2 separate regions of the Homo sapiens genome follow, and region 2 is linked to region 1. Evidence: promoter capture Hi-C in 16 types of primary human blood cells and fetal thymus (Javierre and others, 2016). All regions are on one chromosome and are shown on one strand. Each heading gives the region's core, a stretch centred on a gene start or on the middle of the fragment in contact. The rest is flanking DNA. Distances are from core to core; before and after follow the strand shown. Region 1 holds the start of CXCL14 (C-X-C motif chemokine ligand 14). Region 2 overlaps SLC25A48 (solute carrier family 25 member 48).

Region 1 (6,759 bases), core at 2,170-4,669:
ACCAACCACCCTCCAGGACACTGACCTCTGCAGGAGTTTCACACTGATCTCTGTGGTTTATAGCTAATGTCTGCCTTCCCCACTAGACTCTGAGCTGCTTGGGGACAGGCACACAGCTGCCTTGGCTCACCTCAAACCCCCAGCACCTCGTACAACGCCTGGGACACAGTGGGTGCTCAATAAATGTAAAGAGAAGAAATAAGCAAATCCCTGGGGTCTCAGCAAAATTTCCACTCCCTCAAGGAGTGATGTCCTGTTTCCACTTCCTCCCTCCTCTGTGCCCCCACACTTCACGTCTACCTCTTCTGTAGAATCCAGTATGACCATGAATGTGTTGACATCTGCACACATGCATACACACACACAGGCAAGGCATGTGTGCTGTCCTTCACTGTACCCCAGGGACCTCCTTGAAGCAGACAGTGCCACTGTACAAAGAACGGCCTCACACATGCCCACCTGCTCAGAGGCCCTCGGCTTGGGCTCACTAGACAGTCTGTGCCCTGAAGGTGTGTCAGGGGCCAAGCCCCCTCCCTCACCCAGTTAGGCAGCATCCCCCACAGACCTGCTGGCAGCAGGGGCCTCATGCTCTCCTGTACCATGGCTCCAGAAGAACTCACACAAACAAGGGCTCAGCTCTGCTTGCACAGTGGCTGCCTTCTGCAAACCAGAGATCTGCATACACAGACTGAGGAGTGTAACTGAGGACAAAACACTGGGACGTCTGACCTCTGGTCCAGCCCAAGAAGCTGGGGAACGTTGGTCCATATTTCTAGAGCCAACTACTTTTTCCTGTGAAAACTCAGTGCCCACGATCGCTGGTGTTGTTAGATCCCAGTTAATCAATCAACATATTCTTGAAACAAACATGTTAGAAATAAAATCGTTAATAAAAAATAATACTTTACATGCTCTAGGAAAGCTTGGTATTTAAGAAATTCCTTTGCAGCATAAAATATATTTTTTTGGAAAGCAATTGGCAATTTCTATGAAAAGTCTTAAAATGGGCATGTGCCATGGCCCCATGATTCTATTTCTGAGGGCTGATCCAATGTATTAAAACCTACCCCAAAATGGAGCTACAAGAATATTTGTCAAACAGCATTGGTTGTAAGAGGGTAAGGTTGAAAACAATCCAAATGTCCAGCAAGGAGTAGTCAAATTAATTCTGGTACATCTGTATGACGGAATACTCTGCAGCTAAAATCATGATAACCGCAATGGTCAGCACATATCAAACACTTACTCTGTGTTGGGGACCACATTAAAAGCATTACATGCACTATCTCATTTAATTCTGCCTATGCTGTACATATTATTATCATCTCCATCTCACAGATGAGGAAACCAATACCAAATAGAGTTAAGGTATTTGCCCAAAGTCACACAGCTAGTCCCTAGGATGCATACTCAGGCAATTTGACTCCAGACACCAGCCTCTTAGCCATTATACTACCCGGCCTCAGATGAAACCATTAAGGGAGCTATTGTTGTAGCAAGGCTAGCCACATGGAGCGATGTTCACAATATGCTAATAGGTATAGCAAGCAGGTTATTAAAGACTACATGCAGCCTGATCCCATGTGTACATGTGCACACAAAGCAAAAAGAGGATGCTTTGGGAAGATTTCACCCAAGATTTTACTTGCGTGAAAATGTTAGTTTTCTTCTGCTTGGGTTTTCTGATTTTTCTGGGCAAACGTGTTGTTTCTATATTTTAAAAAATTATTTTTAGAGTTAAAAACTAACATAAATGCCAAAAGTCACTCCCTCATACTCATCTCATGCATAAATGCAAATGTCCAGCTATTGGCTTTGCTTTAGGTATAGGCACAACAGCACGCATAGGCGCTGCTTGCTTTTCATGGCTCAGCTTCTTCTTGAAGCAGCAAGGGCTCTCCAGTTGGGAAGAGACGACACAGATTCTTCCCATTGCACCCTTCAGCAGACTGTCCCCATCATCCAGAAGCCCTCTGGGCATTTTTGCCTCCAGGGAACTGCCAGGCTGATGGCATAGAGCTGGGTGAGCTCTCTCCTGACAGCCAAGCCCAGGGACTCCAAGAGCTTGAGATGATCCACCTCCTGTCTCTGGGTCTCTCAAGGCAGCAAGAAGTGAAGGGCAGACAGGCCTCAAAGCAACAGAGTGGTCCAGGGACAGGAGTCCCAGTTCTGCAGCCGTATATACTGAGGACCCTCCTGGCCTAGTCACCTGCTTCCTAGCTCTGTGACCTTGGACAAGTTATTTCTTCTCTCAGAGCATGTTTCCACACCTGTCAAATAAAGAAATTAAAAGTACCAACTTGGAAGAAAAGTACCAATTGGTAAGAATCAAAGTAATAGATAAATTAGACATAAAACGATGGTGCCAATAAGTAACATTTCCTGGGTACTGACAACATGTATGATTTCTATAGTTCTCACAGCCACCCTATCAGAAACACTGTGATGATCTGCACTTTACAGATGATGAAACAAAAGCTGAGAGCGGTAAAGTCACTTGTGCTGGAAAGTAGTGAGGAGGGAATTTCTGCCACTATGGCTGGGCTCACACCACTATACCTCGCATTCTGGCACAATGTCTAGAACATGGGAAGGCCTTCATCCAGATGGTTACCACTGTCATCGCTCTCCACTAGGGCTCTCTACCTGGCTTTGGAGAGTAGTGTGAGAGTGAGGACTCCTCCTGGTTCTCCCCACCACCCAGACACTCACACAGCCACCAGGCCACTGACCCACTTTAAGGAGCTTTCCTTTGGGAGTCACCAAAACTCCTCCCCAATACCCGTCCCCACCCCCGCATACACACACATACCCTCTTTGAGTCAGTTCCAGTGATCACAGTCAATGACTTTGCTGCTGGACAGTCTATGACAAGCCCCTGTCCAGAACTGGCCTTGTGTTCTGGCCCAGCAGGGGCCCTTGGGGGTCAGGCCTGCAGGCACTCACACTTGGCACCTGCTCCAAAACCCTTTCAGGTCTTTGAGGATCTGAGCCCTGGGCCTGGGTCTCCCGCCGGCTCGGAAAAGCTGGCCTGCCGGGCCAGAGAGAGAACCACACGATTCAGAAAAGCAGTGCCCTTCAGCAGCCTCTCCACCGTCTGGGCTCCCCAAAGGCAGAGCGGGACGCTGGAAATGTGTGCGCGCTGTGGTATGGGTGTGCAAGTGTGCGAAGGCGGCGTGTTGTGTGAGCGAGAGGGTAGCGGATGTGTGTGTGCGTGTGCGCGCGTGGCTCCGGGTGTGCGCCGCTGCGATAGCGGGTCCTTTCCCGGGGCGGGCGACGGGCGGGCTGGGAAGGTCTCCTCCCCTCACCACATTGAGAAATCTCAGTGAGTCACCGAGTGGTTCTGCATATTAATGAGCTCGCTCGCTGCGAGGGCAGGAGCGGATTTAAAAGAGGCCAGGGCGGGCGGAGGGAGGCTGTGGAGAGAGCGCGGAGACAAGCGCAGAGCGCAGCGCACGGCCACAGACAGCCCTGGGCATCCACCGACGGCGCAGCCGGAGCCAGCAGAGCCGGAAGGCGCGCCCCGGGCAGAGAAAGCCGAGCAGAGCTGGGTGGCGTCTCCGGGCCGCCGCTCCGACGGGCCAGCGCCCTCCCCATGTCCCTGCTCCCACGCCGCGCCCCTCCGGTCAGCATGAGGCTCCTGGCGGCCGCGCTGCTCCTGCTGCTGCTGGCGCTGTACACCGCGCGTGTGGACGGTGAGTGCGGGGAGCTCCCCTTGTCGCCGTCTCGTCTTGTCCTGTCCTGGGGAACCCAAGCGCCAATTTCTAGGCATCCTGGGATCCCGCGGGGGGTGGTCTGGGTGGGCACCAAGGTGGTCGAGGGGCAGGAGACCGCCTAGCAACTAAGCCGTTGCCCCGCGCTCGCTCGCAGGGTCCAAATGCAAGTGCTCCCGGAAGGGACCCAAGATCCGCTACAGCGACGTGAAGAAGCTGGAAATGAAGCCAAAGTACCCGCACTGCGAGGAGAAGATGGTTATGTGAGTTCTCGCTCCTCACCTTGAGGGGGTGCGCACTGCTGTCAACCCAATGCCAGGGCACAGCCTGGGCCTGGGTCGGGCTAACAAACATTTCTCTCCGACTTTGTCAAGGCCCTGGAAAAGCCTTTGTAATTGCCCAGAGAGTCCTTAGGACGCTGGCGAGACACTCTGGAAGACAGTCGGGAAGGGGGGTCACTGTCCCGCTCCGGAACAGCGCCTCCAAGTTCACCCTTGCTAGGATTCAAATGAGCAGTCTCCCTATTTGTACCATGGGCCACCCACTCTGCTAGGGCCATCAAGGGTTAAAGGGTTCCCTTGTGCCAACTCAGAAAACCTAGACTGAAATCACTTAAAACACACTCACACCCAAACTGTGAGGCGTGCTGCCTTCCTGTCACTGGATAGAGGACTAATGCAAACACTATCTTAAATCCTGAGTCTCCTTCAGAGCCTTGTTCCAGTCAGAGACAAGTGGACCGCAAGTTTTTGGCTCCTAGAGATTTTATTTTGAGAACGCTCCACGAGCTTCCCTCACCGACTGTACTCCTTGTGGGTCCCCAATACGGAGCAGTACTGCAGAAAGTGCTCTGCTGGGGTTAATGTGCCACATGGCTGGAGCCCTGCTTGGTGGGGATGTGGGGAATGTTGGAAAAACTGGGGCAGAGTGAGAGAACACTTAGTTTCTTGCTCCTCCGCCTTCCCAATTAACCACTTGAGGCCAGCACCGCTGCCTCCTCATCAATATGCTCTTGGCCAGGAAGGGAGCCCTTGGCAAAGCGGCTACCAAATATTTGCCACAGACCATTGGCCCCTCTTCCCCTCCCCCAGAAACAGGACGCACTTTATTCTCAGTCTGGGCAAGTGCCCTCCACCAGCTGGCCCCCACCGGCGCAAAGGCCTTCACAGTGTCTGCGAAAGCAGTGCACACCCCTACCCAGCACCCCCCATCCCCGTCTAGGGGCTACACTGTCAGGCTGAAATTAGGGGAATTCAGAAATCCACTGGAACTGAGCTGACCCCACTGCCTTCCTTCACAGACACCTAAATTAACTTGCTTGTCCCTACCCCTTGCCTTGCAGACCAAATTCAAAGAAAATACCCAAAAATCCTTTTGGGTGGGGGCCAAGTGTCAAATGAGCTGGGAAAGGAGCTCCAAGCTCCTCAGGGCTTCCAGTTTGGGGGCTAAGAATGACAGGGGAATTCCAAGTTAAATCTCACTCGTCTAAGAGCTGAAAACCACTCTATTAACCAAACAAGTTTCTGAGACCTTGCAGGGGAAGAAAGCAGGGTAAAGGATGCAGTGATACCTAAAAAGGACAGAGCCCTCAGTAAATAGGCTTGCTCTTTTCCTGGCTAAACTTTTCCACATATAGAGAAAAACTATAGCTAGGCAAGTGTGAGAAAGGCTTTACGGAGCCTTGTAGAAACGTGCAGGGGCCTCAGGAGATCAGCACACAATCCAATCACCCTCTACTAAACCTCTAACCCACCCCCTAGGGCCTCCCACTCCATCCCTGAGGGCTGGGGGCTCCTCTCCCCCTCCACAATCCTAAAACTCTCCAAATCAGATGAGGGGCCAGCACTTTTGCAAAGCAGGTTTTCAGCCACAAAGGCTGAACAAAAGCAAATTTTCCAGCTTACCCTGAGTCACCCAGAAATCTCTGCTGAGGCTGGGGGTGGGGGCAGGAGTAGGGGCGGGGGGAGAGGTCCGCTTTGCAAGTGGGAGTCCTTGCACCCAGAAGGATCCAGGAGAGTCCGAATTCTAGAAAGAGCAATTTGTGTCATAGGTCCATGGAGCTCTCACCAAAACCCTTACCCCCACCGCCAGAACTGTGGAGGAGAGGGTCACAGGACTCAGAATTTCTGATAGTTGCTGGAGTCACAAATCCCTATGTCTGCACTCCACAACCGATTTTCATAATCCCAGTATTATGACGTGGCATTTGAGCACTGTAGTGAGAGGGCTGAGTGACCCTTCCTGCTCTCCCTTCCTGCTCTCCCTGACCTTCAGGATTTGGGATGCACAGCCTGCACACTGACCTAACTGAGAAAGGGTTTTTATCAGGCATTACCACGTCCTTTCCTTCAGAATGCTAAAGCAGCCTTGTAGGCAGAAAGAGAAAAGCATTTGCTAAATTCCTGCAGGGTGACTGGGCACAGTGGGGGAGAGAGACAACCAGAGTTCACTCTGAAGCCTGGCCTGTGCTCAAGGCTAGAGGAATGACCCGGAGTCACAGAGGAGTCCAGTCAAGGCAGGCACCATCACCTGGCATCAGCAGGAAGACCCGCCCCTGCCCCAAGGAGCTTAGGCCCTAGCAGGGACCCCAGAAACCCAGAGCACGGAGAAGGGAAGAGAACAGGTTGCCTAGGAACATTATGCCCCCATTCTGGTGGCAAGATCCGATTTTCTTTCCCCATCAACTGGGAGACTGAAGTAATGGGAATCCTGTCCCTTCTAGAACTTAGCCCATATAAGCCATGACATTTTCCATTTGGTTAACAGTGGGGAACTAGCTGACCTCTGTCCCTCTCTTCTCACTCTTTCCACTCTCACTTCCAGTCTCCCCCTTTGCCCTCCAAGCCCATTCCAGCACCCCAGTCTACCATCATGGCTTGCATGGCTGTGACCCCTCAAGAAGTGGCATCCTCACCTCTCACCTTGCACTTTTCCAAATACCCTAGGTGGTCTCTTATTCCCCACAACTCCTGTCATGCCTGTGGCCTAGAGGTGCTCAGAAGTTCTGAGCAGCAGGCTTGCCTCGCCCTCCAGGCTGGAGCCCCCA
Region 2 (6,759 bases), core at 1,411-3,910, 280 kb before region 1:
TGTTACTGTAACTCTCTGCTTCTTCCCAAATTCCTTCACTAAGTCTTCTCTTTGCTGCCATCCTCTGCCTTATTTGCAGCTCGCTTGGTGTTTGCATCTAATGTTATGACCTCAACTGTCACTTCTATGCCTATTGCACTTGTGCCTCTACCTGCAGCCCTGATGCTTCCAGGTGCAATCTCACAGGCACCTCACACTACATAGACCAGGCAAAACTCATCCTCTTCTCACTCAAGTCTGCCCCTCCAGCAGCAGCCACAGTAAGCATTGATTGATTACCTGCTCCATGCCAAGAACCGTCTTAGATGTTTCATTTGCTACTTAATTCCCTGTGTGGGGGGTTCCACTTGTCTCATTGTCATCCAACTTTGGGGTCTTTGGTCATTTTTGACACTTTCCTCTCTCCTGCTTATGCCTAATGCTTGGCCTGCTGCTTCTATATCATCAGGGCCTCTGCATCTGCCACCTGTCTCTGTTCCCAAGCCCAGGGCCCCAGGTCTGTGGCTATAGCCTTCAAATCAATCTACCCACTTCTACAATTCCCACCACTCTTCTGCCCCTTCCAGAGGCCAGTTTTCTCTTCTCCAACACCACTCTGATTGCATCATTCTGGTGTCCAAAGTGCTTCACTGCCTGCTGAATATAATCTAAGCCTATCCTCAGCGAAGAAATCCAAGCGCTTCCCAACTTACTCCACATCTTCCAAAACCCCCACCATCCCTGCATTGCTTGTCTGTGCTAACCAAAGGCTCCCTTGTCCCACCATGTGCCTACATTTTCCTGCCACTAAATCTTCCCCTATGTTGTTCCCACAGTATTAAAACACTTCGCCATCCCATGTCCCCATCTCTAAATGCTACGTAGAACTAAAAAACCCGATCAACAGCCTCTTCCTTTCTGGAGGCTTCCTGATCCACCAAGCCAGAGTCAGGGGTTCCAAAGACTTTCCTGAGGCCTTTCTCATTGAAGCACACATCTGGCTCCCCACTAGACTGTGGACACCCTGAAGGCTGTGGCTTCCAGCGCTTCTTTACCCACTGTGTCTGCCTCAAAGCAGGGGCTCAGGAAATGCTTGTGAATGAACAGTTCACAGTGAATTCAAACAGGTGTAAACACTCATCTCCTTGCCTCCAGTTGGGCCTGGTGCAATGATTAGGATAGTCAGCACAGAGTTAATGTTCAGTCCTTCCCTGATCCTCCCAACTCCAACCTCCTGTTATGTGGAGGGCTTTGTGATCTGCACATTAATTAGTCTTTCAATGGAAAAACAGATCTAAACACTCCCAGATGGGGGAGGAGTGAGTGTCATTAGCCATGAACTTCTAGGAAGGACATGGCTCAGGCAGCAAAGGGACTACTGGTCTGCAGGGTCACAGCCCTGACTTCTAGCTCAGGCTCAACAGGCCACCTAGTTAGGCTTATGCCCAACAGGCCACCTAGTTAGGCTCATGCCCAACAGGCCACCTAGTTAGGCTCATGCCCATGCAAAGGGCAGTGATTTTAAAAGGAAGGGTTTTTTCACAGGTGCCTTACTGTCACAGGCACATACAACTGAACACAGGCCAATGTCTCCTTGCTTGCCAAGTGGCAGAGGCCCCAGGAGAATACCTCTGTTAATTTGGAAGCATTTACATGGGGGCATAACTACTGGTTATTGTGCAATGGTAGTCAGTGTCAAATGGAAATTCCCTTTAAATGTAAGCAACTGCTTATATGATTTGGTAAAACTCTTCTGGATAACAATTTCACAATATGTACCAAGAATGTTAAAAATGGCCACACCCCTTATCCCACTCATGAATCAAAGAGCCCACACATTTAGGGAAATAACCCTAAATAAAGAGAACTCTTTATGAATATATTCGCTGATCATACCACTATTTTTAAAAGAGGAAAAACTGTAAACAACCTAAATATTCACCATTAGGAAGATTGTTAAATAATACATTTACTGATAATTAACATTTATTTCACATTTTCTATATGCCAGACATTGTGCTGAGGTCTTCATGTATAATACATTTCATTGCATCCCAGCTATAAAGTAGCTACTATAGTTATGCCTGCTTTGCAGATGAGTTAACTGAGGCTTGGTGACATTAGGTGAGCTGTCTAACCTTTTTTGGGTTCAGTGGAAGTAGAATTATAAGCAGGTAGTCTAATTCTGGAAGCTTAATTTTTACCATACTACATAGACTCTTTCAGTGTGTGTGTGTGTGTGTGTGTGTGTGTGCGTGTGTATTTGATGGACTAGTGCACATCCATTTTAAATATTGCCCATCTACTTAAAAAAATTTTATATGCTATTTTAATAACATGGTTAGTGTTTCTATTATAATGCTGAGTTAAAAACAGGACATGAAATTGTCCATATAGCATGATCACAGCTTCTTAAAATCTTTAATCTATGTATACAGAATGGAAAAATAAACACATTAATGTGTTACCAGTGGTTGTAATTGCATGAATGGGCACTTTCTACCTCTACTTTCAATGTTCTGTAGCTTGTAGATTTTTAACCATGGATCACCACTAAGAGACAATCAGGAGGGGCTGGCTGAATATACACTGGCTATATATTTGCCAGTCCCCCAACCACCTGAGCTGGGCTCTCACCTCAATGTGGCCCCCAGTCCACCTGTCATATGTACCAGAGCGAAGAAGCCAGAGGCCTCTTGGCACCTGGCTTCCGTATGTGAGTGCTGTCTCTCATATCACATAGGATCGCCCTGGAAGTGGACTGGCAATCCTGAGGCAGAACCACAAAACCCAATCAGTCTCAAAAGCCCTGCCCAAGGCTGCCTAGAAATGCCCACATGAGCACAGTCAACACATGGATTGGGACTGACCCAGGGCGCAGACCACAGGACTGCAGCCAGCCCCAGCCCCATTCTATGCAATTCACACAGCCTTGGGCTCTATGGTGTTCTGTTTGGTTTTCACTGAATTACATGATCATTCCAACCAAAATATCTCATGAAAAAAATCTACCTTTTTGCCTTCTCTTAAAAATCGGAGGATCCAAGCACATCAGGCCACAGGGCAACAGTCCGATAAAGTGGGGTTGTGACCACTCCCTTGGACAGGATGTGGGCCCAGCTTGCCACAGTCCCCACCACTCCCAGCTGCCTCTCAGACACTGAAGCTTACACATCAGGCTTGAACTACTGCTTTTCTAATAGCAGAATGAGGCAGAAGATAAAATATGTTCTGTGTCCAGGTTTCAATCGAAAGAGGAAAAATGAAACATAGATTAGGAGAGCTGTGGTCTCAAGAAAAATGGGAGAGGATTCACTTCCCCAGACACCTCTTCTCACTTATGAAACTACCTTTGCAAAAATTAGATCAGTGAGAAAATTATGGCAGTGGGGGCAACCTAATCTAGCCAATCCCCCTTTTGACTTTATCCTTCAAGCTGCCTTGATTATTTCTTGGCTTAGGCTGAGCTAACTTTGCCAGACATTTAGTTTATACTTTAAATGATAATCGCCCTTCCCTAAAAGTAATGAGAGGTCAACAGGCTAGAGGGAGGAGAGGAGCCTGAATTCTGCTAAGGTATGGAGGAGAGGAGCCTGAATTCTGCTAAGGTATAGACATAAAGGATTGCCAGCCATTATTTAGGAGGTCACAAGATATGCAAACTTCCCCAATTACTCCTGCCGATAACATCACTGCAGGAGTAATCAGTATTGTGAAACCTAAGATTTGCCCTTTGAGGTATCTTTTCAGGCTTTTTGCATGTCTGACACCAGTGGCACCAACTCACCAGCCCTGCTCCTGGACCCACAAACCCTGCTCCTGTGGCCTCACCCAGAAGCAACAATGTGCATAGGAGGACAATTTTCCACACCTCTATGATTGCATGCCAACCAATCAGCAGCAAGCACCCATTGCCTAGCCATCTCCATCCCTTCCCACAAACTGCCTTTGAAAAAGCCCTAACTTATAAGCCTCCTATGAGATTGATTTGAGGAATAACTCTGTCTCCCACGTGGTGTGGCTGGCCTTGTGTCAAATAAACTCTGTATTTACTGCAATGCCAGGGGAGGCGATATGATTTGGCTGTGTCTCTACCCAAATCTCATCTTGAATTGTAGCTCCCATAATCCCCATGTGTCATGGGAGGGATCTGGTAGGAGGTAATTGAATCATGGGGGTGGGGTCTTTCCCATGCTGTTCTCATGATAGTGAGTAAGTCTCATGAGATCTGATGGTTTTATAAATGAGAGTTCTCTGGCACACACTCTCTTGCCTGCTGCCATGTAAGACGTGACTTTGCTCCTCCTTCACCTTCTGCCATGCTTGTGAGGCCTCCCCAGCCATGTGGAACTGTGAGTCAATTAAACCTCTTTTCTTTATGAATTACCCAGTCTCAGGCATGTCTTTATTAGTGGCAAGAGATTGGACTAATATAGGAGGTTACATGTATGTTAGCTCCCTGTCGTGATGAGTCTCTGAGTTTTCTATCTCTAGCCTAGAGGGTTCCTGAGGAGCAATTGAAAGAAAACCACATTCCTTCTCATTTTCTGGAGGGATTCCTGGCAGAAAACACTGCCTGGTGACTTTTTGTCAGCCTCCCCTCCCTTCTCCAGTAGTTGATCCTGTCTAGCACCTGCTGCCACCAAATTCCTTCCCCCAAGCAACTGAGGGCAAGGGAGATCAGAGGGGGCAGCCCGATCCCACAGAATTCACACCCAACCCTTGGAACCCACAAGCTGTGCCCATTACTTGGACAACGTCATTTTGGGGACATGCTCCCAGCTCACTTCTCCCTAAAGTTTGAAGCTATTTGTGTGCATGACAATTTTGCGCAAAGGCCCAGGTGGCCCAATGTTATCAACGTTGTCATAACCTCAGCTTCTACAAATCCTGGGGCAAAAGCAGAGAAAGCATCAGTGCCTCTGAATCAGACCTCCTCCACCTCCCACTAAGGGAGGGACCTGGGGGTATGAAACCTCTTTGTTCCTCAGTCTCCCCATAGTAAATCCCCAGGAATTGGGTTGTTGTGAAGATTAAACATATGCCAAGCTCCTAGCATTGTGTTTGGCACACAATTAGGGTTCAGTAAACACTGGCCACTCAGCCACTACTGCCAAGACCATTCTTATTCAGTCCAGATCACAGAAACTTGTGGGGGCACGGCAGAGGTGGGTCCTCCAATCTTGGCTTTTACTCTCCCTCCATGCACTTGGTGAACCATCTTTGGCTTTGGCTTTGCTCTTTGTGCTAAGCCGATGAGCCCAGGTTCTAATGGCTCAAAGCTTTGCAGGGTTGAGAAATATTTGCCTGCAGAAACCTCCATGCCTCTTACTAAGAGCCTTCTCCAAGCTCCCAAAAGGCTGGTCTCCTGGCACACAGGGAAGAACAGAACAAACACATGTTCATTTTCTGTTGCTGCCTCGGGGGTTTATTTAAGAGAACTGGTTTCCTTCTGGCACCACAGACAAATAAACAACCTGAAGGCACAGGCCATGGGCAGATTGCCATACAGGAGGCTCGGGGAATCTTACCTATCCTGAGACATGTCAGCACCTCCCCATGGTGGAAGGACAGGGTCCCTGTGTTCTCACTGCTCAGAGGCTTACCCAAAAGACAGGGCCCTTTAAGGACAGGTGCCAGGTGGTAAAGGGCCCTTTAAGGCCCTTTAAGGATCCCTTTAAGGACTTCCCTGATGAGAGATCTGAAGGTCCCCAGGTAGGCCATATCTCAGGCTCCCATACCTAGGCAAGGCAGACCTGAGTGGCCCTCAGCACTACCTGGGCAGGTGCACAGCCCTGACCTCCAGGCTTTCCTCCCAGCCCTTCTCCCACCCTGCTCCCAAACCCTCCTTGACTCCAGCCTGACAGCCCATTGTATTTCCCTACCACCATGGTTTGTAGGCACCCAGTTCCTCTCTGGCTCTCAGCTGGATGCCACACTGTAACAGAGACAGGATGCAGTCTTTTGTTCACCACTGCATTCTCAGCACATAGCCCTGTGCCTGGCACCCAGTAGGTGCATAACTATCATCTTGGAGATACGTGAACAGAGATGGCAATCATATCTGCCTCATGCTGTAATGGTGGATATTAAAGAAGGTGATGGGTGGACAGTACCTTATGTGGTGTCTGGTATAGAGTGAGCATGTCACATTGGCAGCTGCTAATGGTGGCTGCTCAGCTCCCTAACACTGGCCAGGAGCTGTGCACCCTGCTTGGAGGCCATGCTTGGATTCAGCCACTCCCTTGGCTGCCTCCCATTCTTCCTCTAGTCTCCAAATGCTTCTAGCCTAGCTTCAGAATCCCCTATCACTCAGGGCCTGGTATGACACCATTCTAGCATACTGTACAGGGAAAGCTGGAGTGGAGGTGGGCAGGACAGAGGATAGAACAAAAAGTTGTCAAGAAACCTTCAAATGTCCCAGACCTTCTTAAGGAAAGTATTTATTGGGAAACACCTCCCTTGGCGTCCCAGCTGGGTGAGGGCCCCCAACAGATACTTGCAAACAGATATTCGCAAAGCTACCCCCATTTCCTCCCCTTCCAGGGACAAGGTGCCAGGTGGTAAAGGAGGCGGGGCTGCTTCCAGCAGCCAAAAAGCCTCATTGCTGAGCCTTTTCCAACAACCGAACCCCAAACAGTTTTAAGACGTATGGAGATTTCCTTTCCCCTAAGGCAAGCTTTTCTGAAGCAGTCGGGATAGAGCAAAGAGCCAGCACAGGGGCCTGGATGCCTGGGTTCTCAGCCTGCTCATGACAGCCTTCATTCCTCTACATCTTTG

The links. The method cuts DNA at HindIII sites, captures the fragments that hold promoters and counts their contacts. A CHiCAGO score of 5 or more calls a contact.
Region 2: a fragment that was not itself captured here is called in contact with the fragment with the promoter of CXCL14 in region 1 in 1 of 17 cell types (M0 macrophages); the score reaches 5.6 in M0 macrophages.

The regions. Positions count from the first base shown.
Region 1 is chr5:135,575,651-135,582,409 of GRCh38, reverse strand. It overlaps CXCL14 (C-X-C motif chemokine ligand 14), which reads left to right and starts at 3,419. Exons shown (of 4, transcript NM_004887.5): 1 at 3,419-3,695; 2 at 3,871-3,976. The coding sequence starts at 3,632. It also overlaps a transcript of SLC25A48 not described here. The HindIII fragment of the contact is 10,061 bases long and covers 925-6,759 here.
Region 2 is chr5:135,856,788-135,863,546 of GRCh38, reverse strand. All of the region lies in intron 4 of SLC25A48 (solute carrier family 25 member 48), which reads right to left. Among named protein-coding and RNA genes, the nearest start is that of SLC25A48, 26 kb to the right of the region's middle. The HindIII fragment of the contact is 974 bases long and covers 2,174-3,147 here.